Linked DNA regions of Homo sapiens: all the other regions are linked to region 1. The links are contacts of gene promoters, found by promoter capture Hi-C in blood cells and fetal thymus (Javierre and others, 2016). All regions are on one chromosome and are shown on one strand. The core of a region is centred on a gene start or on the middle of the fragment in contact, and the rest is flanking DNA. Distances in the headings are between cores, read along the strand shown.

Region 1 (2,700 bases), core at 78-2,577:
CAATGAAACCCTGTATCTACTAAAAATACAAAAATTAGCTAGGCAAGGTGGCATGTACCTGTAGTCCCAGCTACTCGGGAGGCTGAGGCAGGAGAATCGCTTGAACCCGGGAGGCGGAGGCTGCAGTAAGCCGAGATTGCGCCATTGCACTCCAGCCTGGACAACAGAGCGAGACTCCATCTCAAAAAGAAAAAAACAAAAAAAAATGACGGGGCCTCTAATGCTGTCTCCATTTCAGACCTATATGAGGTGCTTGACTTAGTGTGAGTGTTTTAGATTTAGCCACTTCACATATTTAAAAAGTCCTTTTCATAATATTTCTCACCTTCAGATCCTGCAACCATTTCTTATGCTATTCATTCTAGCCAAAGCCATTTCCAAAGCATCTATAAGCTTACATTTTCAGATGCACTCCACTCCAATCAAGAGAAAAACTCGGCAGTGGAACGGAAATCAAAGTTCCTCTCAATTTCAGAGCCGGTTGGATTCCGGTGGATAGTGGAGAGTGAATCGTAACCTATTTCACACTCTTGCTCCCTACACAACATTCTGTTGCTCTGAATGCATTACTTTGCTCACAGGGAATGGCCAGAGGAGGATGAGGAGCCTGCAGAGAGAAGAGTATTTTGAAATCTGGGGAGCCCTTTGCAAGCTTCCTCATTTTCCCAGTGCAAAAACCAAGACCCAGCGAGCGGAAGTAACTTGTCCAAGGTCACACAGCAAATCCGAATCCAACCCAGCACTCTGTCCCCCAGCCTGGGGCTCCTTCCAGAACCTGAAAACTGCCCTTTCTGCATTCACTGAATAAACCCAATTTTGCCATCTACGGCTCTCCAAACAGCTGGCAAACAGCTCCTTCTGGAGCACGGGAAAGGAATTCACTCAAACCAGCACTTTTGCCAAGGATGTCTAACAGCGTCAACTTCCCCCTGGCCCCCGCCCACCCTACAGCAAGCAGTAACTCTTCCCCTCCAGTTTAACTCACCTTCTTGTCTCAGGGAGCCAGTTTCCAGCTGTTTCTCTGCCAGGCAAGGGGAGCCCATCTCTTGGTGCCCAGGGAAGGGACAGGTTTCTGGTGGAGATGAAGGGGAAGAAAAAAATCCCCAAAACAGCAGTTTCTAGCAGAGTCAGTTTCCAATCTTTCTTCCCGTGCCTCCTCCAGAAACCAGAAGTTCATTCATTCTGCATCTCTCTCTCCAGCAGCTGCAGGAGAGCCCTGGGGGATTGAGGTGGGATTTTTTTTTTTTTTTAAAGGACCCAGAAGTCCCTTTCCTTATGAGAGATGAGGGTCTGGGGGTTCTTGCTGGGAGGGAGCCAGGGCAGCTGTCCTGGTTGAGCAGCGGACTCTGCACTTCAAGTCCCACGGGGACAGCCAGTGTGGGGGGGTGTGGAATGGGAAGGGCTTAGAAATAATCTCTCCATCAGCCAGCAGCAGGAAGAAGCAGCAGCCGCTGCCACTCTGCCAACCGCCTAGGAGGCAAGGGGAGCTGTCCTCCCTCCTCTGGCATGGAGGAGCACAACTCGGGAGGAGCAGAGGGCAACTTGGGGCCGGAGGCATCTGCAGCTACCTGTCCCAGGCACCCCAGAGTCTCTCGGGGTATGCTGATGATGGTGACAGGCTCAAGTTGAAGCTGCAGGAGGAACTTTTTGCTGCTTTTAAGCAGCCCAGGCCTGGGACAGGTTCAGACAGAAGCCCAGGCTCTGAGCGCTGGGTGGGAGTCAGGGGGGCTGTGTTACAGAACAGCAATAGGAAGAGCTCCGAGCTTGGAATTCACACACATGCCTGGATCCTGGCTCCTATGTGAAAGGCTGGGTGACCTTGGCCAGGTGAGTTAGTGCTTCTGAGCCTCAATTGTCTTGTCTCTAAAACATGGGAATGAGAGAGGGTTCAGGGAAGGTCAGAACCATAAGTGCAAGCTCCTGTGCTGGTTGGATGGTTGGGTGGGTGAAAAGGAAGAGGCATCAGTCCAGGGCCTGGGTGTGAACTTGGACTCTGCACTGCCTGGCTGTGTGTTCTTGGTCAGTCACTTCCCCTCTCTGGGCCTTGGGTTTCTCAGTCAAATGAGGACAGTGAAACCAGCGATGGCTGCAATTGTAAAACCAGCATCTTGTAGTTGCTCACTACACGTTGACTGTTCTTCACTTTCTTAAGAGGTTTTGCAGCCCAGGCTCTTGGCTTCTGAATGTGTTATCTTCACTGCATTTGATAGTTGAGGCCCTGAGAAGAGGCTTGCTCAAGGTCATCTTGCTGGTTAGAACCATCACTTAGGCCGGGTGTGGTGGCTCACAGCTGTCATCCCAGAACTTTGGAGGCGGAGGCGGGCAGATCACAAGGTCAGGAGTTTGAGACCAGCCTGGCCAACGTACTGAAACCCTGTCTCTACTAAAAATACAAAAATTAGCTGGGCATGGTGGCGGGTGCCTGTAATCCCAGCTACTCGGGAGGCTGAGGCAGGAGAATTGCTTGAATCCGGGAGGCGGAGGTTGCAGTGAGCTGAGGTCGCGCCACTACACTCCAGCCTGGGTGACAAAGTGAGACTCTGTCTCAAAAAAAAAAAAAAAAAAAAAGAACCATCACTTAACAGACGCTTGAGTTTTGATGGGAGGATCCAGGAGTGAGGGAGATTAGAGGGTGAGCCTTCCACAGCTGCCTGCAAGGGGATGACAGGTGCTGCTGACCTAGGTGGGCTCTCTGTGGCC
Region 2 (2,700 bases), core at 56-2,555, 200 kb after region 1:
GAATGAATGAAACAAAAATATGCAAAACTAGTAATAATAAAAAAGAAAAGAAAAGAAATGGGCAGAGAAGTAATGCGAGTGTCCAGGCTCACCAGGCCGGGAAGGAAGAGCGCTGGGAATCCCACTCTTTTTGCTTGTCTCTTTTTCATTTTTTAAATATTTATGTATAAATTGAGGTAGAAGTCATCTACCATGAATTCACCCCGTTAAAGTGCACAATTCAGTGGTTTCAATTTGTTCACAAGTTGTGCAAACTTCACCACTGTCTAGAATACTTTGTCACCCCAAGTGGAAATGCCATCATCCCCATTATCGGTCGCTCCCCGTTACCCCACACTCGTCACCACCCGTGCACCTGCCTCCCTGCTGGGTTCCCTCATGATAACTTTATGGGAACCAACATTCAGCACAGCCAAGAAATAGTCACGATGTTTCTTTTAAAAAGCCGGGACGCTGAGTTGTTTTAAAGAGCAAGTCTTGTCCCCACAACCCCAGCTGTAAAAATGGGACAGGCCCACAATGTCTAACTTTTTCATGAGCCCAGTACTAACTACAGATGTCCGGACAATCCCCTTTTAGGCGGGCTGTGTTGCCAACAATGCGGTCATCAGAAAGAACGCCGTGATGGGGCAGCCCACCGAGGGTGCATTGATGGCCCTGGCGATGAAGGTAGGAGGTCCTGGGGTGGCTCTGCGGGGAATTCTTTCGCTCGGGGCTGGATTCATTGGTAGAAAGCCAGCTCCTGTCTGAGCTAACAGGAGTGGGGACGTTAGGTAATCATGGAAGAAAATGGCCCACACTGGCCTTGGGCCATCTGTTGGTGGTGGAGGAGGTGAGCTCTGAGATTCCACGGGACTTCAGCAAGTTCTGCAGGTCTCTAATCCCTCCACCAGCGATTCCAAAAGAATCCTATGAGCTTCCCTGTGGTTCAGGCCCTGGTCAGGTGTTGAGGCGACAGACAGTGGAACGAGACTCCCTATGCACCCAACACGACCCTGTGCTCACCGAGGCACCACTGGGAGGGGCTGGTTCCTGGGAATGTATTCGATTGACTCCGGGGTTCAGTGTTAGACCCTGAGCTCTGTGGCTGTGCAGGGTTGCCCCAGGCCATTCTGTACCCAGCACCAGGTACCAAGTGGCTGCTTGCAGTGTGGAGGGGATGGGTGGGAGCTGATGGGGGCCTGCTGCATTCTGTGCTCAGAGGACAAGTTAGAAGAAGGAGAGGCAGAAAACATGGGCTGGGAATGCAGGTGACAGGAAAGCAAGGAGAAGAGAGGACAAAGGACATGGGAAAGGAGGGGCCGGCAGAGGTTAAGAGGAGGGAGCAAAGGAAGGAAGAAGGTGGCCCCGGTCAGCTCCCACGTCTGTTTCCATGGCCACTTGGCCTGGGTCCCTCCTCTTCAGCCAGAGCTGGGGCTCCCCTGGACACTGTGGGAGCTCCTTTCCCCGACCCGCTCCGTGCTTTCTGCTGTGTGACTTGTCTCTGACTCGGGTGTGATCAGAACCCTCTCCATCAAGGTCAAGGGAAAAGCCCGACTCAGGGTGCTCATCCCCCAGCACGGACCCCTCGCTGCCGCCGAGCCTGGCCCCTGCACTCACCCTCCCTTCCTGCTTCCTCCTGGACTTTGACCACTCCTGCCTGTTCTCACTGGCGAGTGCCGACTTTCTCTTCAAGTTCACTCCAGTTTCCACCCCAGCAGACACCTCTCCTCATCCCGGGCTCACTTCACTGCCTTGTATTTTCAGCTTACCTGTCCCATCACTGAGCACCAGGGCTCACTTCACTGCCTTCTGTTATCAGCTTACCTGTCCCTCCCTCCAGTGCAAGACTCCAACCTCCCACACCACTGCCTTCCCAAAGCTGGTGCTGGGCGGGGGAGAGGTGGTCGCCCTCTCATAAGCCCCCGTGTTGGTAGATCAGGTGCTTTTCCCCAGTGTAAGAACATTGGAAAGTCATTACAGGCTGAGTGCAGTGGCTCAAATCCCAGCACTTTAAGAGGCTAAGGCGGGAGGATCATTTGAGGCCAAGAGTTTGAGACCAGCCTGGGCAACATAGCGAAAACCCATCTCTACAAAAAATATAAAAATTAGCTGGGCATGGTGGTGCATGCCTGTGGTCCCAGCTACTCAGGAGGCTGAGGCAGGAGGATCCCTTGAGCCCAGGAGTCTGAGGCTGCAATGAGCTATGATCACACCACTGCACTCCAGTCTAGATGAGAGAGATCCTGCCTCAAAAAAAAAAAAAAAAAAAAAACAAAAAGATTGGGCACAGTGGCTCACACCTGTAATCGCAACACTTTGGGAGACCGAGGCAGGTGGATCACCTGAGGTCAGGAGTTCAAGACCAGCCTGGCCAACATGGTGAAACCTCATCTCTACTAAAAATATAAAAATTAGCTGGGCATGGTGGTGCACACCTGTAATCCCAGCTACTCGGGAGGCTGAGGCAGGAGAATTGCTTGAACCCAGGAGGCGGAGGTTACAGTGAGCCGAGATCGTACCATTGCACTCCAGCCTGGGTGACAGAGCAAGACTCCGTCTCAAAAAAACAAACAGAAATCATGACATCGTATTATTTTTCTTCCATTCACAGAAGAGAATTCTCTCTGCAATGTCTGTAATAGTGAATGGAGCTCATTTCCCGTTTTAAAATAGTGCTGAGTCTGCCCCATTCAACAACTCCTCGCCGCCCAGAAGGGA
Region 3 (2,700 bases), core at 176-2,675, 250 kb after region 1:
GCCCAGGGAAGGAAAATGTCCGATCTGAACCAATTACCATCTCCTGGTCCCCTCGGAGGCATCTGTGGCTTGACTTCTCCCACGCCCCATAGACCCGGCACCGTGTAATAACTGGGCCCGTGTCCTCGCCTGAAAACTGGGGGTCACACGGCCTGTCCTGAAGAACTCTGATGTGATAAACACCATAGAGCAGCATCACATTTTCCTATCGCCCCGACTGCGTCTAGAGAAACACTTGGAGAAGATGGGAGAGCCCTATTTAGCACCCCCACCCTCTCCCTTTCTCCAGAGCTCTTTGCCCGTGCTGTGCCACTCGTCAAGGTTCAGGACACCAAGTCTTACCTTGAAACTGAGGCTTCACCTCCCAAGAGCAAGAGGCAAACCCACCGAACACATGCTTGTCATGGTCCTCGAGGACAGCCACACAGGGTCCCCGGTGAGTGATGTGGCCACAGAGCTGGGAGAAGCTGTGTCCATGGAGCTCAGACGAAAAGAGCAGGCACCAGCGGTGCCGCTGCTCCCGAGGCAGCTGGGCGTTGATGTACATGACAGAGAGGACATCCAGGATGCTCTCAAAACCCCTGCCCTGGTCCACTTGACGCTCAGGGACCAGGGTAGTCAGATCAAGAGACGAGCACAGGATGAGAAAGCCCTTGCAAATGACCACACTCAGGAATATGGCCACATGGGGGACCCTGAACACCCAGTCCTCGATCACAGCTCGGTCACAGTCATAGTCCAGCCACTGGGGCCCCAGAAGTCTCTTGCCATCTAGGGGAAGGGGATGGTCAGCATTAGTGGGGCTGTTATGTCACCATTTAGCTACTATCTAAACCCACACTGATCAGTGTGGGAGCCACGAGTCACATGCAATTACTGAGCACAGAAAACAGGGCTCGTGTGAATTGAGAGGTGCCGTCAGTGTAAAAGGCACACTTGATTTCAAAGATTTGGTATGAAAAAAGAATGTAAAATATCTCAATTTTTAAATATTCATTACATTTCAAAATTGTATTTAGGACATATTATTAGAATCAGTTTTCCCCTGTTTCTCTTTACTCTTTTAACATGGTCCCTAGAAAAGGGAAAATTTCACATGGGGCTTGCTTTGTCTATTGGCCAGCACTGATCTAAACAATCCGACTTCAACACTTTTCTCTCCTCTCCAAGCAGCATTTCAGAACCCCTCGAGATGGCAGTGCCCTGGCAATGGGGCTGGAATAAATGCCTGAGCTACACCTGGAGCCGCTCATCCAAGGGCGTCGGTCCTGCCAAGGTCACTGGAAGGGGAATGTTCCCAGCCAGTCAAGGGGCTGGTAGGGCACTTCCTGGGACTCCTGCAGTTTATCTGGGAAGTGCGGGTTTCATTCGCCACTAATCAGGCTTAATCATACAGCACTTGGAGCCCTATTTTCCATCCCTCACCCACTAAGAGTGGAGGTGACAGTAAGAGCGTGGGAGCACACACCTGGGACTCGAACAGCTGGCTTCAAACCCGAGCTCAGGAACAGCATGACCTTGCCAAGGTCTGGACCTCTGTGCCTCAGTTTCCTCAGGTATAAAATGGAGGTAAGGCCAGAACCTGCCCCGCTCGGTTATTACAAGGAACAGAGGAGCTTTTACGTCTTAAGCTCTTGCTGACACAAAGGCCCCATTTACAGAGATTATAATTCCCAACCTAGCGAAAATTTGACTAAGCTGAAATATTTTGTGTAACTCAGGCCCATTTTATTAAGCAGGAAATGTAAAAGTACTCCCAACTTCTGATAATTCAAAATTCCTATCATTTCTATTTATTTTTCAAACAGTTTCATTTCTCATTACCTATATATTACTTGAAATCTTAAGGATAATTTTAATCGTCTGAATTACCTTTTCTACTTCACTGAAAACTTTAATTTTTATTTTCATGATTCTTCTTTTAAAACATACTGATTCTAGATGGATGAACAGTTTACCCATAAGACGAATTACTGATACTTACTTGTAAAATTCTTTCCAAGTTCCAAATACCTCATCTAAACTAACTTCTGAAATATAACCTATTTTCAAGCTGTACTTTAAAATCTGGCTTTAAAACAAAAGGGCAACATATTTATAAAGTAAGTCTGCTTTGCAAAGTGATTTGCCACAAGGTTTTTTTTTTTAATCCCAATTAAATTTAAATATATACTGCTTCTCACCCAACAACAGAATACACATTCTTCTCAAATGTGCTTTAAACATTATCCAGAAGTGACCATACTATAGGCCATAAATGATGCATCAACAAATTTTAAAGGATTCAAATAATACAAAGTATCTTCTCTAAACATAATGAAATATAATCAAAAATCAGTACTAAAAGGCAATTTGAGGAATTCACAGGCATGGAGAAATTAAATAACACACTGTTACATAGCCAGTAGGCCAAATGAAAAAATCCTAAGGGACATTAGAAAATATTGAGATCAATGAAAATAAAAACATAACCTATCAAAACTTATGGCATGCAGCGAAGGCAGTGCTGAAAGGGAAATGTGCAAGTGTAAATGCTTATTTGAAAAAGAAGATCTCGAATCAATAACCTAGTATTCTATCTTAAGAAACTAGGAAAAGAAGACCAAACAAATTTAAAGCAAACAGAAGGAAGAAAATAAAAGCTAGAGGAAAATAAATAGAAACTAGAAAGACAACAGAAAATTAATGAAACTAAAAGCT
Region 4 (2,700 bases), core at 126-2,625, 170 kb after region 1:
GCCCGGCCGACAAACTAAATTCTTAATGTTATTTAATTTTAATTTTTATTTAAATATGCACATGGACCTAGTGGCTACCATATTGGGCAGCTCAGCTTAGAACATCTGCGGGGGCCCTTCTAGGAACAGCTGCCATTGGTGGAGGAAGCTGACAGGCCCAGGAGGGAAAACAGCTTTTTCCTTTTTCTTTTCTTTCTTTCCTTTCTTTTCTTTTCTTTCTTTTCTTTCTTTCCTTTCTCTTCTTTCTTTTCCTTTCTTCCTTTCTTTCTTTTTCTTTTTGTTGTTGTTGTTGTTGAGACAGGGTCTGGCTCTGTTGCCTAGGCTAGAGTGCAGTGGCAGGATCTCGGCTCACTGCAACCTGTGCCTGCCTCCAGGGCTCAAGTGATCCTCCTGCCTTACTTTCCCAAGTAGCTGGGAATACAGGTGCATGCCATGCCACCACACCTGACTACTTTTTTGTATCAGCTGCTACAAAAGTTACTGCATTTTTTGCATTTTTATTTTTTAAACCTGATTGTGTATGTGTGTGTATGTATGTGTGTACGTGTGTGCACGTATGTGTGTGTGTGAGCATGTCTGCACGTGTGTGTGCGTGTGTGTCTGTATGCGTGTGTCTGCGTGCGTGTGTGCATGTGTGTGTGCGTGTGTGTATATGTGTCTGTGTGTGTCTGTGCATGTGTCTGTGTATGTGTGTGCGTGTGTGTATGCATGTGTGTGTCTGTGTCTCCGTGTGTGTGTCTGTGCATGTGTATGTGTGCATGTGTGTATATGTGTCTGTGTGTGTCTGTGTGTGCATGTGTCTGTGTGTGTATGCGTGTGTGTGTGTGTGTGTGTGTATGTGTGTGTGTGGAGATGGGGTTTCACTATGTTGCTCAGTCTGGGAAAACAGCTCATTCTAAGCTTAACTTTTAGCATAGCAGTGGTCCATAAGCTCGTTCTCCTAGTAGAAAATGAAATGATTTCAAAAAAGGCCAAAGTCTTCTCCCCACCCCTGCTAACATTGGTTGAGGTCCTGTCAGGCTGATCTGTCTTTCCCGAACATACCTGGCTGCTCAAAGTGATAGAAGGTATCCTGTGATCAGCCGGGCGCGGTGGCTCACACCTGTAATCCCAGCACTTTGGGAGGCCGAGGTAGGCAGCTCACCTGAGGTCAGGAGTTCAAGACCAGCCTGGCCAACATGGTGAAACTCTGTCTCTACTAAAAATTAAAAAAAAATTAGCTGGGCATGGTGGTGGGTGTCTGTAATCCCAGCTACTTGGGAGGCTGAGGCAGGAGAATTGCCTGAACCCAGAGATGGAGGTTGCAGTGAGCCAAGAGTGCTCCATTGTACTCCAGCCTGTGCGATAAGAGCGAAACTCTGTCTCAAAAAAAAAAAAAAAAAGTATCTCATGGTCTGGGGTGTCTGGGAACAACTCAGCCCACCCTCTGAGTCTCCAAGACCCATTTCCAACATTTGGCAAACATACGGCAACTCCGTATTTTCTGAAGGATAATTTTCAGGGAGAGCTTTAGTATATATCCCAGGCACATGTTGTGCAACTGAGCCATGGGGCTAGGGTAGAAAGCCGTAGTGAGATACGGTCCCGCGTCTCAAAGAGTCAGCATTCAAGGGGCGTGTGTGTATAATACAAGGCGGAGAATGACGAAGGACCAAATAGGGACAAGAAGAGGATGATACAGAATTGACCCACATCACAGAGGGTGAGTCAATTGTAGAAGGGCCGCGGGAGCAGTAGAAATGTCTGGGCTCGCTGGTCGGATGAACAGTGCTGTCAGAAATCCAGACATGTGACATCATTAACTGAGCAAACGGAAGCATAAATGATTTATGTGATTTGATGATCCGATCTTAAGCTTAAATATCGAGTCTTGGCCTTTCAGGTGAATAGCGTGCATTATTGATGTCTCCCGGGAGGTCACTTCTAAAAGACGGTTTTATGTACAAAAGCAGCGGTGTCGGGCAGCCCAGTAGAGTTGAAAGAGCGCTGAAGAGGTGAAGCCCACCCTTTGAGTCTCTGAGACCCATTTCCAACTCAGGGGAAACCCTGCTGTGCGGGACCCCCTCCCTGTGTTACTCCATCCCTGGTGCAGGCATCAAATATTTATTGAGCACCTACTGTATGCCTGGAGAAAGGGCACTGAGGTTATACAAGTGGAAGAAATGGGGAGGCCTCGGCCTTTGGGGACCTCACATTCCTACCAAGGGAGTACATAATAAGCCAGTGAAGAACAAGATGACCTTGGAATTGTCCAGGTACACAAAAGCCAAAAAATACTGGAGGCCACCAAAACAAATAAAAAACCCCACTGAGATGTAATAGTGACTGGTAGAAGGGTGAGGACAACCCTAAATAGCTGTCGATCAGGCTGACATTTAGAGAGGAGGTGACATTTAAGCTGAGGCCTGAGGAAGAGGAGCCTGCCATGGGAGGAGCTGAGGGAGCAACAGGTATATCTCTGGCAGGTGCTCTTGGCTACAAGGAACAGAAAGTCCAGTTGCACAAACGCCAAGAAAAGTATATTGTCTCATAGCCAGGGATCTGAGGTGGGAGCCGTGGGGTTAGTTAATTCAGGAGAGCACCCAGGGCGTGGTTCTTTCACCTCCTTACCCTGCCACCTTGTGCCCACTGGGGTTGCATTGGTTCTTGGCTGGCTCTCCTCATGATCCCAGATGGCTGCCACAGCTCCTTGCATCACAG

Evidence for each region. Contacts are between HindIII fragments. The CHiCAGO score rates a contact against its expected background, and 5 or more counts as called.
Region 2: a fragment that was not itself captured here is called in contact with the fragment with the promoter of KCNG4 in region 1 in 3 of 17 cell types (M2 macrophages, megakaryocytes and M1 macrophages); the score reaches 6.5 in M2 macrophages.
Region 3: a contact is called between a fragment that was not itself captured here and the fragment with the promoter of KCNG4 in region 1, in 3 of 17 cell types (M2 macrophages, M1 macrophages and megakaryocytes). The highest score is 7.6, in M2 macrophages.
Region 4: a contact is called between a fragment that was not itself captured here and the fragment with the promoter of KCNG4 in region 1, in 2 of 17 cell types (M2 macrophages and M1 macrophages). The highest score is 5.8, in M2 macrophages.

Annotation. Positions count from the first base shown.
Region 1 is chr16:84,238,685-84,241,384 of GRCh38, forward strand. It overlaps KCNG4 (potassium voltage-gated channel modifier subfamily G member 4), which reads right to left and starts at 1,328. Exons shown (of 3, transcript NM_172347.3): 1 at 986-1,328. The HindIII fragment of the contact is 3,746 bases long and covers 651-2,700 here.
Region 2 is chr16:84,441,931-84,444,630 of GRCh38, forward strand. It overlaps ATP2C2 (ATPase secretory pathway Ca2+ transporting 2), which reads left to right. Exons shown (of 27, transcript NM_014861.4): 15 at 580-669. Among named protein-coding and RNA genes, the nearest start is that of ATP2C2-AS1, 24 kb to the right of the region's middle. The HindIII fragment of the contact is 8,325 bases long and covers 1-2,700 here.
Region 3 is chr16:84,486,289-84,488,988 of GRCh38, forward strand. MEAK7 (MTOR associated protein MEAK7) reads right to left here. Exons shown (of 8, transcript NM_020947.4): 5 at 343-771. Among named protein-coding and RNA genes, the nearest start is that of MEAK7, 17 kb to the right of the region's middle. The HindIII fragment of the contact is 2,956 bases long and covers 1-2,700 here.
Region 4 is chr16:84,411,734-84,414,433 of GRCh38, forward strand. The region is part of intron 6 of ATP2C2 (ATPase secretory pathway Ca2+ transporting 2); the gene reads left to right. Among named protein-coding and RNA genes, the nearest start is that of ATP2C2, 45 kb to the left of the region's middle. The HindIII fragment of the contact is 955 bases long and covers 899-1,853 here.